Linked DNA regions of Homo sapiens: region 1 is linked to region 2. The links are contacts of gene promoters, found by promoter capture Hi-C in blood cells and fetal thymus (Javierre and others, 2016). All regions are on one chromosome and are shown on one strand. The core of a region is centred on a gene start or on the middle of the fragment in contact, and the rest is flanking DNA. Distances in the headings are between cores, read along the strand shown.

Region 1 (5,158 bases), core at 369-2,868, 7.0 Mb before region 2:
ATAACTGGCAAAACGCGTTTCCGCCAACGATAGCGTCACTTCCGGCGTCTCAAGCCGGCGGTGAGGAGAATAGAAAACTTGCCCTCACTTAAGATGGCCACATCCTGCCTTTGTCCTCATTGGTAAATTGGCTCTCTCAGCTTCCGTGACCCGCCTCCCTTCTTCCTCCTGCCCGTAGTAGCCATGGCGGCCATGAGTTTGTTGCGGCGGGTTTCGGTTACTGCGGTGGCAGCTCTGTCTGGCCGGCCCCTTGGCACTCGCCTCGGATTTGGGGGCTTCCTCACTCGTGGCTTTCCGAAGGCTGCTGGTGGGTGCTGGCCTAGGGAGAACGGGCGTGAAGCGGGTGCGGGGCGAGAAAAGGGAGGACGCTTCCAGGGTGACCTTGGTGGGATCCGGAGGGAGCCGGGACAAGTTGTGGGCTTGGGGCTTGACAGGAGAGACGGAGCACGAGCTATATGAGGGGTTTTCCTGAAGTAGCCAGATAGATCGTGTTTACATTATTAGCATTTCTAAAACGTTGTTATTCACCATCCCAATTAATGCTAATTTGCGGATGAAGCTGAGTCTAGAAAGGTATAGAGCTGAGATCTGTATCTCTAGGGCACAAGCTTATTGTTGCGTTCCACCTGCCCAAAGGCTAGGTTCTAGTCCCACAGATGCAAAGTCATCTTGCCGAGAAGCCCACCTATGCTAAGGAATATGAAGACAGGTAATATGTAGACAGGTAAAGAGGCTCAGGGCCAACTTATTCTTTAGGCACAGTAAGTACCGTGCCGCCCAATAATGAGATGCAGATGAACTGGGGAGGAAGAGAGGTTTTTGTTTTGTTTTGTTTTGTTTGTTTGTTTTTTGAGACAGAGTCTCACTCTGTTGCCCAGGCTGGAGTGCAGTGGCGCGATCTTGGCTCACTGCAACCTCCGCCTCCTGGGTTCAAGCGATTCTCCTGCCTGAACCCATGATAGTTTTAGGGGTCTACGAAAGTCTTTTAATTTAAATTTCTTTTTTAAAAAAACCATAATGTTTATGAATATGATAACGAATCCAGCCTGTATTATGTTCGTTTTATACCAATGCAGTCATAAAATATTATTTTTAATAACTTAGACGAAGGGGCCCTTGAAGGCAAAAGTGCCTAGGTCTCAGGAAAGTCATAATACAGTCTTTTTTTTTTTTTCTTTTGAGACAGTCTCACTCTGTCACCCAGGCTGGAGTGCAGTGGCACCATCTTGGCTCACTGCAATCTCCACCCCCCGGGTTCAAGCGATTCTCCCGCCTCAGCCTCCCCAGTAGCTGAGGCTACAGGTGCACACCACCACGCCTGGCTAATTTTTGTATATTTAGTAGAGATGGGGTTTCACCATGTTGGCCAGGCTGGTCTCGAACTCCTCACCTCAAATGATCCGCCCACCTCAGCCTCCCAAAGTGCTGGGATTATAGGCGTAAGCCACTGCACCTGACCAATACAGTCTTAATAGGGCTATTTGGACCTCCTTGGAGACAGTGAGTTGCATCATGGCGGTGTGAATAATCATAGCAAAGATCAAATGCTTGATATTCAGTGTACTTTATTATCTCAGAGACTCTGCAAAGAAATTACAATGTTATTTTCATTTTACAGATGAGGAAACTGACTCAATTATTAAATAATGTGTCACTAAATAATAGCCAACATTTACTGAGCACCTGTTACGTGTCAAGCATCCTTTTTTATTTTTATTTTTTTCAAGACGGAGTCTTGCTCTGTTGCCCAGGCTGGAGTGCAATGGCGTGATCTTGGGTCACTGCAACCTCTGCCTCCTGCGTTCAGGCGATTCTCCTGCCTCAGCCTCTTGAGTAGCTGGGATTACAGTTGCACGCCTCCATGCCCGGCTAATTTTATGTGTTTTTAGTAGAGATGGGGTTTCATCATGTTGGCTAGGCTGGTCTCGAACTCCTGACCTCGTGATCCACCTGCCTTGGCCTCCCAGAGTGCTGAGATCACAGGCGTGAGCCACCCCACCTGACCTCAAGCATCATTTTAAGGGTTTAAAGTATTAATTTATTTAATCCTCTTCATTAGATATATACTGTAAGCTATTTGCCCTGTGCAATAGAAGCAGGTAAAGAGGAAGTGAAACACTTAAAGTCAGAAAGTTGTCTCCAGCCTCAAAATATCTTGTTCTCTTTTTACCCCTATTCTCCCAGTTTAATTTGAATTATGCCACTCCACAGGATGAGGCAATATACATAGGGATTTGCTGGAAACATGATGCAAAGAACCAGTGGTATTTAACAAATTTCCAGCAGGAATTTGAACTTGTTACAAAACTACATTCCTTGATGAAAATCCCTTTATAAGCCATTTCTGATTACAGATATTCTCATATAGCCAAATACAAATCCTTCAAATACTCGCTCTGGTAGTATTCAATCAAATCCAGCTGGAGATAAACTGCAGCAAAATTTCACCCCCAGTTTCTCTTTCCACATTATTGCCCTTTCTTGGGGTTCTCAAAGGATCATTACCGTGTTCTGCGCCCTTTCCAATCAGAGCAGGGAAGGTTCTAATAGCTATGTTTACTAAAGGTTACTGTGTTTTCAGCTGTGTACCTGCTTTCAAAGGTATTTTGCATCTGTCACTGTGATATGAAAGCTTTTAATCTCTTACATGGTTGTTTATATCTGTCCCTACAAGAATGTAAGCTCTAATGTAGTAGAGAGCCTGTCTTGTTTTGTTTTTTCTGGAGATAGACTGCCTATCTTCAAATTCTGGCTCTAGAATTCAGAAGCCATGTCTGTGATCATCACATCTTGGAAGCTAAAGTGGAAGACACCTAATTGCTCATAACCTGCATTTCCTCCTCTTTAAAAAAGATGAGAATTTTAACCTGCCTCAAAAGGTAGTTGTGAAGAGTGAGTGGAAAAAATCAACAGTGCCTGGCAGCAGTAGCCTTTAAAAAAATTGTGGTAAAGTACACATAACATTTACTATTTTAACCATTTTTAAGTGCACCGTTCAGTGGTATTAAATACATTCCTAATGCTATGCAACCATCACCATCATCCAACTCCAGAACTTTTTTCATATGGTAAAACTAAAACTCTGTATCCGTTAAACAATAACTCTCCATTCCCCTTCCACGTAGCCCCTGGTAACCACCATTCTGCTGTCTTTATGATTTTGACTACTCTATTTCTCATGTAAGTAGAATCATATAATATTTGTCTGTCACTTAGCATAATATCCCCAAGGCATATTTATGTCGTAGCATATGTCAGAATTTCCTTCCTTTTTAAAGCTGAATTGTCCGTTGTCCATTGTATGTATTTACCCCATTTTGCTTATCCATCATCTGTCAATTGGGTTGCATCTAGGTTTTGTTTGTTTGTTTGTTTGTTTTGTTTTTGAGACAGAGTCTTGCTCTGTCTTCCAGGCTAGAGTGCAGTGGCACCATCTTGACTCACTGCAACCCCTGGCTTCCCGTGTTCTCATATCAAACTGAAGGTCAGGCTGCTATTTCTTGCCATCCAATAATGAGATGCAGATGAACTGGGGAGGAAGAGAGTTTTTTTTTTGTTTTGTTTTGTTTTTTTTTGAAACAGAGTCTCACTCTGTTGCCCAGGCTGGAGTGCAGTGGCGCGATCTTGGCTCACACAGCCATCTCTGCCTCCTGGGTTCAGGCGATTCTCCTGCCTCAGCCTCCTGAGTAGCTGGGATTACAGGTGCACACCTCCATGCCCGGCTAATTTTTTGTATTTTTAGTAGAGATGGGTTTTCACCATGTTGGCCAGGCTGGTCTTGAACTCCCGGCCTCAGGTGATCCGCCCGCCTTGGCCTCCCAAAGTGCTGGGATTATAGACATGAGCCACCGCGCCCTGCCAGAAGAGAGTTTTTATTCCTGTAACTGGTTACAGGGAGAAGTCCTGGAAATTATCGCCAGACCAACTTAAAATTACAGTTTTCCAGAGCTTGTAGACCTTTTAAGCTATATGTCTACATGTAAGTGTGCACTTATCTAAAGACAAAAGTGACTAACTTTTTAAAATCTATAATTAAGGTCTGAGTCCTGAGGACCTTCCTCTGGAGCCTTAGTAAATTTACTTAATTTAAATGGATCCAGGTGCTGGGGTGATTACCCTTATCTTATCTCCTGCTAAATCACGGAGGTTTGGGAAGTTCCTTCAGACCTCCAGTCAACTTGTTTGTGGAGGCCTGGGGAGTTTCTTCAGACCCACAAAAACTTGTTTAATCCTAAATGGGTTCTGTTAAGAATTCTTTCGAACTCCTGTCCTCAAGTGATCCACCTGTCTTGGCCTCTTAAAGTGTTGGGATTACAGCTGTGAGCCACTACACCGAAGCACTTGCAGATTTTAATTACTGTAAAGCTTCACTTAACATCATTGGCTCTTGAAACTGCGACCGTCAGAACCTATAATAAAGAAGGAAGTGATGTTGTTTAAGGACCTGCTGTATGTGGTTTCACTTAAAGTCACAGTTTCCAAGAACTCATCAGTGACATTGAGTATGACTTGTGTTGTGAATAATGTTTCTGTGAACATGGATATACAAATACCTCTTCTGAGACCCTGCTTTCAATTCTTATGGGTATATCTGCAGAAGTGTAATTGCTGGGTCATGTGTGTCATGGGTGTTACTGGCTGGGACTGGCATTGTGGGTGGTGAAAGAATTTACCAAGACAGTCATAGATACAGAGGACAGATTTATTAGAGAAAATACGAAGATAGAGTTGCAAGAGAACAATGGGCAGCACAGCAGAGAAGGGGCTATCTGCAGAGTCAGGGACTGGAGGGAAGTTTTATAGGGTCATACTGAAGGGGCTATGAGCAGAGAAGATGTGCAGATAAGGTCACTCTACTGGGGCTATGTGTTGAACGAGGTATTTGGGAACAGGATGTTGTGCCTGTGGGTTGCCTGTGATTAGCCGTGTCTCAGCAGAATTGCTTTCCTCCACCTGGGGCCCCTTCCTTGTTGCTTATGTATCTTACTAGGATTCCACAATATGGTAATTCTGTTTTTAATTTTTTGAGGAACCCTCATGCTATTTTCCATAGCAACAATACCATTTTACATTCCTTTGTTTACCAACAGTGTACAAAGATTCCACTTCCTCCATATTGTCACTGACACTTGTTATTTTCTGGTTTTTTGATTGTAGC
Region 2 (4,875 bases), core at 271-2,770:
GCATAAACGGCTTTGTAAACTAGCATGGAGTTGGGATTTTATTCTAAGTGCAAATGAAGAGCCATTCCAGGCTTTTAAACAGGGGAGTGACATGATTTGACTTTTATTTTTTATTTATTTATTTATTTATTTATTTTGAAACGGTGTGTCACTCTGTCGCCCAGGCTGGAGTGCAGTGGCAGGAACTCGGCTCACTGCAACCTCCACCTCCCAGGTTCAAGCAATTCTCCTGCCTCAGGCTCCCGAGCAGCTGGGGTTACAGGCGCTCGCCACCACACCTGGCTAATTTTTGTAGTTTTAGTAGAGACAGGGTTTCATCATGTTGGCCAGCCTGGTCTCAAGCTCCTGACCTCAGGTGCTCCGCCCGTCTCGGCCTCGCAAAGTGCTGATTACACTTTGGGTGGGTGAGCCACCGCGCCCGGGCTTTTTTTTTTTTTTTTTAAATCATGGAGTGAGGGACAGGGATGAGCAACATATATTAAGATATTAAGGAAGATATTAAGAGTGGGGGCAAGGAGGCCAGTTAGGAGGCCCTGGCCAGGTGAGAGATACACTGTGACCCAGAATCCTGGTAATGGAGATGTAGTGAACAGATTGAAGTATAGTTCAGAGGTAAAGAGTTGGATAGCTTATGCATGAAAGGAATAAAAACACCTAGAGCTTTGTCCTGATCAACTAGGTGTTGTGTAACTGCGATGAGCAAAATCGGGGGGAAGATGGGGAATCAAAGAGTTCTGCTTGAACCGTAATAATGGTTTTTACTCGTTGCCTGCTTACTATACGCCCGATGATTTACCGATTTTTTTCCCTGTTAAAATTCACAGAACTGCCAATAAGTGCTTTGCCTCAGTTTTGTTGATAAACTTAGGCTCAGACTTGGGAGGAGGGGAGGGGTGGGGGGTCTCACCACTAAGAAGCGGTGGAAGCCGAATCCGAACTTAAGTCGGTCTGTCATCACTGTAGCCTTTCCGAGACAGTTGTCTTATGGAGTTGCTTGGAGAACGTAAAATAAGAGGCCTAAGCAATGCGTCTGATGTACACCTGTCGTGGAATAACTGTTCCCGCTCATTCGGCCGCTGTACCTCTGCTCCCTCATTCGGAGCGTAGCTGGGTATGAATGAAATTCCGGGCTTGTAGCACAGAGAAAACTTCTCTCCCACAATTGGTTGGTGCTGGGGAGGAAGCTCCTGATTGGTGGAAAGTCCGAGGAAGTGGGCAAGCCGGAGGGATTTCGTGTACCTCAGGTGCCCTCACTCTGACCGGCCCCCTATCATTACGTAATTTTCTACGACTCGCGGTAGCTCAGGCAGAGCGGGTTCCTGCAGCGGCGCGACCCTCTGACGTCTCCGCTTCTAATTGGTCAAGAGCTGCGACTGCAGTTCTGAAGCCTAACTGGTTGCCCGTGCCGCCTCGGAGGTGAAGTGTACTGCGCTGATTGGCTTCCAGGCGCCGGCCGCGTGTGATGTCCCGGGCAACGATTGGCTCTCGCCTACCGGGGGCTTCTCTCACCGGGACTCGGGACTCCCGGGAAGTGGACCGGCAGAAGAGGGGGCTAGCTAGCTGTCTCTGCGGACCAAGGAGACCCCCGCGCCCCCCCGGTGTGAGGCGGCCTCACAGGGCCGGGTGGGCTGGCGAGCCGACGCGGCGGCGGAGGAGGCTGTGAGGAGTGTGTGGAACAGGACCCGGGACAGAGGAACCATGGCTCCGCAGAACCTGAGCACCTTTTGCCTGTTGCTGCTATACCTCATCGGGGCGGTGATTGCCGGGTGAGGAACAGACACTCGCAGACAACGGGGCCTGTGGGTCAGCCTTTGCTGGGGGGTGGGAGGGGGTGGGGGAAGTGGCATTGCCAGACTGACGGAGTGGAGAGGGGCATCGCTGTGGGTTGGCGGGGTGGCGGAGGAAGGGGTAGTATGGGCCAGGCTAGTGGGGTGAGAGGAGAACCGTGGGTGACACCAGTGAGAGGGCCTTAGGTCCAGAGAGGGTCTTAGGTAGAGCTAGATTTGCCCAGAGGAGTGGGAGTTGGATGCATTGCCAAACGGCATTTGGGGGATGAGGGAAAGAAGGTGGTTGCGAGCTGAAGCAGTGTCACGTAGAGCTGGGGAAGAAAGAGGGATGCCTGACTGTAAGGAAAGATAGTGACAGTGCCAGGCTGAGGTTGAGGGGATGGACGTTTGTTTGATCAAAGAGGTGAGTTGCTGTGCCCCGCTGAGGTGGAGAAGCGGACGATGCTCTATGCCAAGCCTTCGAAGAGCCATTCTGGGGCTGACATTAAAGTGGGTGGATGATGCCAGCCCGAGTTGGGACTGAACGAAATTGGATGCGGGATGGGAACAAGAAGATCTTTAGACAGCCCTTGTACTTCCCAGCTTCTTGAGCTATTTATTATCTTAAGTTGCTTCATCTTTAACATTCTGGCAGTGCTACTGTTAGGACATTTATGTGGCATAATCTTTTTAAAGAAGGAAAATCATCCTTTGAGAGTGTTATTTGACTTTTAGAAAAGTCAAAATCATTTGGAGCCAGTATAGGGAAAGGGGGGAAGAGTTAATTTGATTATATGGTTATTGCCTAAAGATAACATGAGACCATAAAATAAGGAAGTGGTTTTCTTGACCGAAGGTGGTTCTGAAAGAAAAGTGCCACAGATGTTTTGAATAATCCGAAAAGAAGTATATAGCCTCTTACTGTGATTACTTCAATATATAAGATTCATTACAAATTCTGGTGTTCTCTCTTTAGTCATTCTTTGTGTGTGTATGTGTCACATAAACCTTCATTTTTATACCTCTTTGCTCAGATACAAACCTAAATGTAGAGGAAAAATAAATCTTTTACTTTGAAAAATGTAACATGTAACTCTTTAATGAAGTATTCTCTCCCTCTACTTCCCAGACGAGATTTCTATAAGATCTTGGGGGTGCCTCGAAGTGCCTCTATAAAGGATATTAAAAAGGCCTATAGGAAACTAGCCCTGCAGCTTCATCCCGACCGGAACCCTGATGATCCACAAGCCCAGGAGAAATTCCAGGATCTGGGTGCTGCTTATGAGGTGAGTTGGGAAAAGTGATAAAGTACGAATAAAATCTGTAGCTCTAGAAAAAACATACAATACAGAGAAACACTCCTTTCAGCTCACATTTATTTATTTATTTATTTATTTTGAGACTGAGTCTCTATTGCCTAGGCTGGAGTGCAGTGGTGCAATCTCCGCTCACTGCAACGTCCACCTCCTGGGTTCAAGCAGTTCTCCCGCCTCAGCCTCCCAAGTAGCTGGGATTACAGGTGCATGCCACCACACCTGGCTAATTTTTGTATTTTTAGTAGAGACAGGGTTTCACCCTGTTGGCCAGGCTAGTCTTGAACTTATTATAGATTAATAAGTAGATCAACTGATTGGTCTGTCGTTCAATCAGTTTGGGAGCTAGAACCAAAAATAAAAAGAAAGCCTTCATGAGAGTTGCAAACCTGCATGTTCATATGAACTAGACAAATAACATGCAGGGCAGGTATAAGTTAAAACATGGCAGCAGATATTCTGCCTCCATATTGGGAAGCAATAAGGATTGTTGAGGACTTTGACAAACTGAAGCCTTCTGGCCCCATTTCAAGGGAGCAGCTGTTACTCAACCCCAGCCAGTTTTTGTCATACAAATGCAAACAGTATGTTCCTGGATGATTTAATTTTTCAAGAAAAGTTGAAAATCTAGATTTTTTATATGAGTTCTGCTTGTAAAAGTGTTGGTAACTAATTCAGTTAAATTTCTTTTTTACATAAATCAAACAGAGCACAGTTTTAATTTGATTTTGCAACCTCTAATCTGGGGATCAAAACACTCTCATGTGTATCATCTCATTTAATCTTCACTAGGACACCAGGAAATATATTAGAGCTAGGCATATTTTTATTCTCATTTTCTAAATGGACACAGAAAAAAATTAATTGAACTAAAAGTCATAGAGCTAAAACTCCTGAATTTAAGTTTAAATTCTTGTATATTGAGAAGGCTAAAAACAAATTGAAAAATATTTTAGGAAGACACAAACCTTGAAAGGAAGGAATCCCAAGATCTCTAGATTAAAGAAGCAATGGAATTGAAACAGTGAGTTATACCCAGGTGAACCCAAGAGCTGTTGGGGTCCTTTCATCTTTCAACACCTTCAGGGATCCTATGGGGCAGAAATTCTTTTTTATTTTTTTTTGAGACAGAGTCTCGCTCTGTCTGCCAAGCTGGAGTAGAGTGGCACGATCTCGGCTCACTGCAAGCTCCGCCTCCTGGGTTTTACGCCATTCTCCTGCCTCAGCCTCCTGAGTAGCTGGGACTACAGCTGTGCACCACCATGCCCAGCTAATTTTTTGTATTTTTAGTAGAGACAGGGTTTCACTGTGTTACCCAGGATGGTCTCGATCTCCTGACCTCATGATCCACCCGCCTCGGCTTCCCAAAGTGCTGGGATTACAGGCATGAGCCACCGTGCCTGGCCAAGGGACAGAAATTCTTAACCTGAGGCACATCAATAAACTTGGGAAGGTTAATGGCCCATCCTAAATTATATGTAATATTTTGTTTCTTGTTGATAATATGCATTCTATATTTTGCACTGTATTTTCCATGAATAGTCCCCTTGTTTGCTAGGAACCTAATACTCAAAAACATTTTCTAGGGAAGCTGAATTTACCATGCTCTCTAAAGAATCTTCACGTTCTTTATCAATGACCTAGGCAGGCTATACAAAGGTCAGTCATGAAATCGTGGCTTATTTAACTATAACAATCCTTTTAGCCACTAGTTCAAATTTCTGTTTTCTTTTTATCATTCAAGCTTGATTGCCTTTAGTCTTAGGTAAATTAGTGTTCACAAATTAGAATCCGAG

Evidence for each region. Contacts are between HindIII fragments. The CHiCAGO score rates a contact against its expected background, and 5 or more counts as called.
Region 1: a fragment that was not itself captured here is called in contact with the fragment with the promoter of DNAJB11 in region 2 in 1 of 17 cell types (non-activated CD4 T cells); the score reaches 6.6 in non-activated CD4 T cells.

The regions. Positions count from the first base shown.
Region 1 is chr3:179,604,633-179,609,790 of GRCh38, forward strand. It overlaps NDUFB5 (NADH:ubiquinone oxidoreductase subunit B5), which reads left to right and starts at 162. Exons shown (of 6, transcript NM_002492.4): 1 at 162-307. The coding sequence starts at 184. It overlaps MRPL47 (mitochondrial ribosomal protein L47), which reads right to left and starts at 6. Exons shown (of 7, transcript NM_020409.3): 1 at 1-6. RefSeq lists enhancers at 1-162, 88-287, 163-1,029, 468-627, 658-747. The HindIII fragment of the contact is 2,024 bases long and covers 607-2,630 here.
Region 2 is chr3:186,569,200-186,574,074 of GRCh38, forward strand. DNAJB11 (DnaJ heat shock protein family (Hsp40) member B11) reads left to right here and starts at 1,521. Exons shown (of 10, transcript NM_016306.6): 1 at 1,521-1,766; 2 at 2,896-3,052. The coding sequence starts at 1,699. It also overlaps a transcript of TBCCD1 not described here. RefSeq lists a silencer at 1,533-1,772. The HindIII fragment of the contact is 6,099 bases long and covers 1-4,821 here.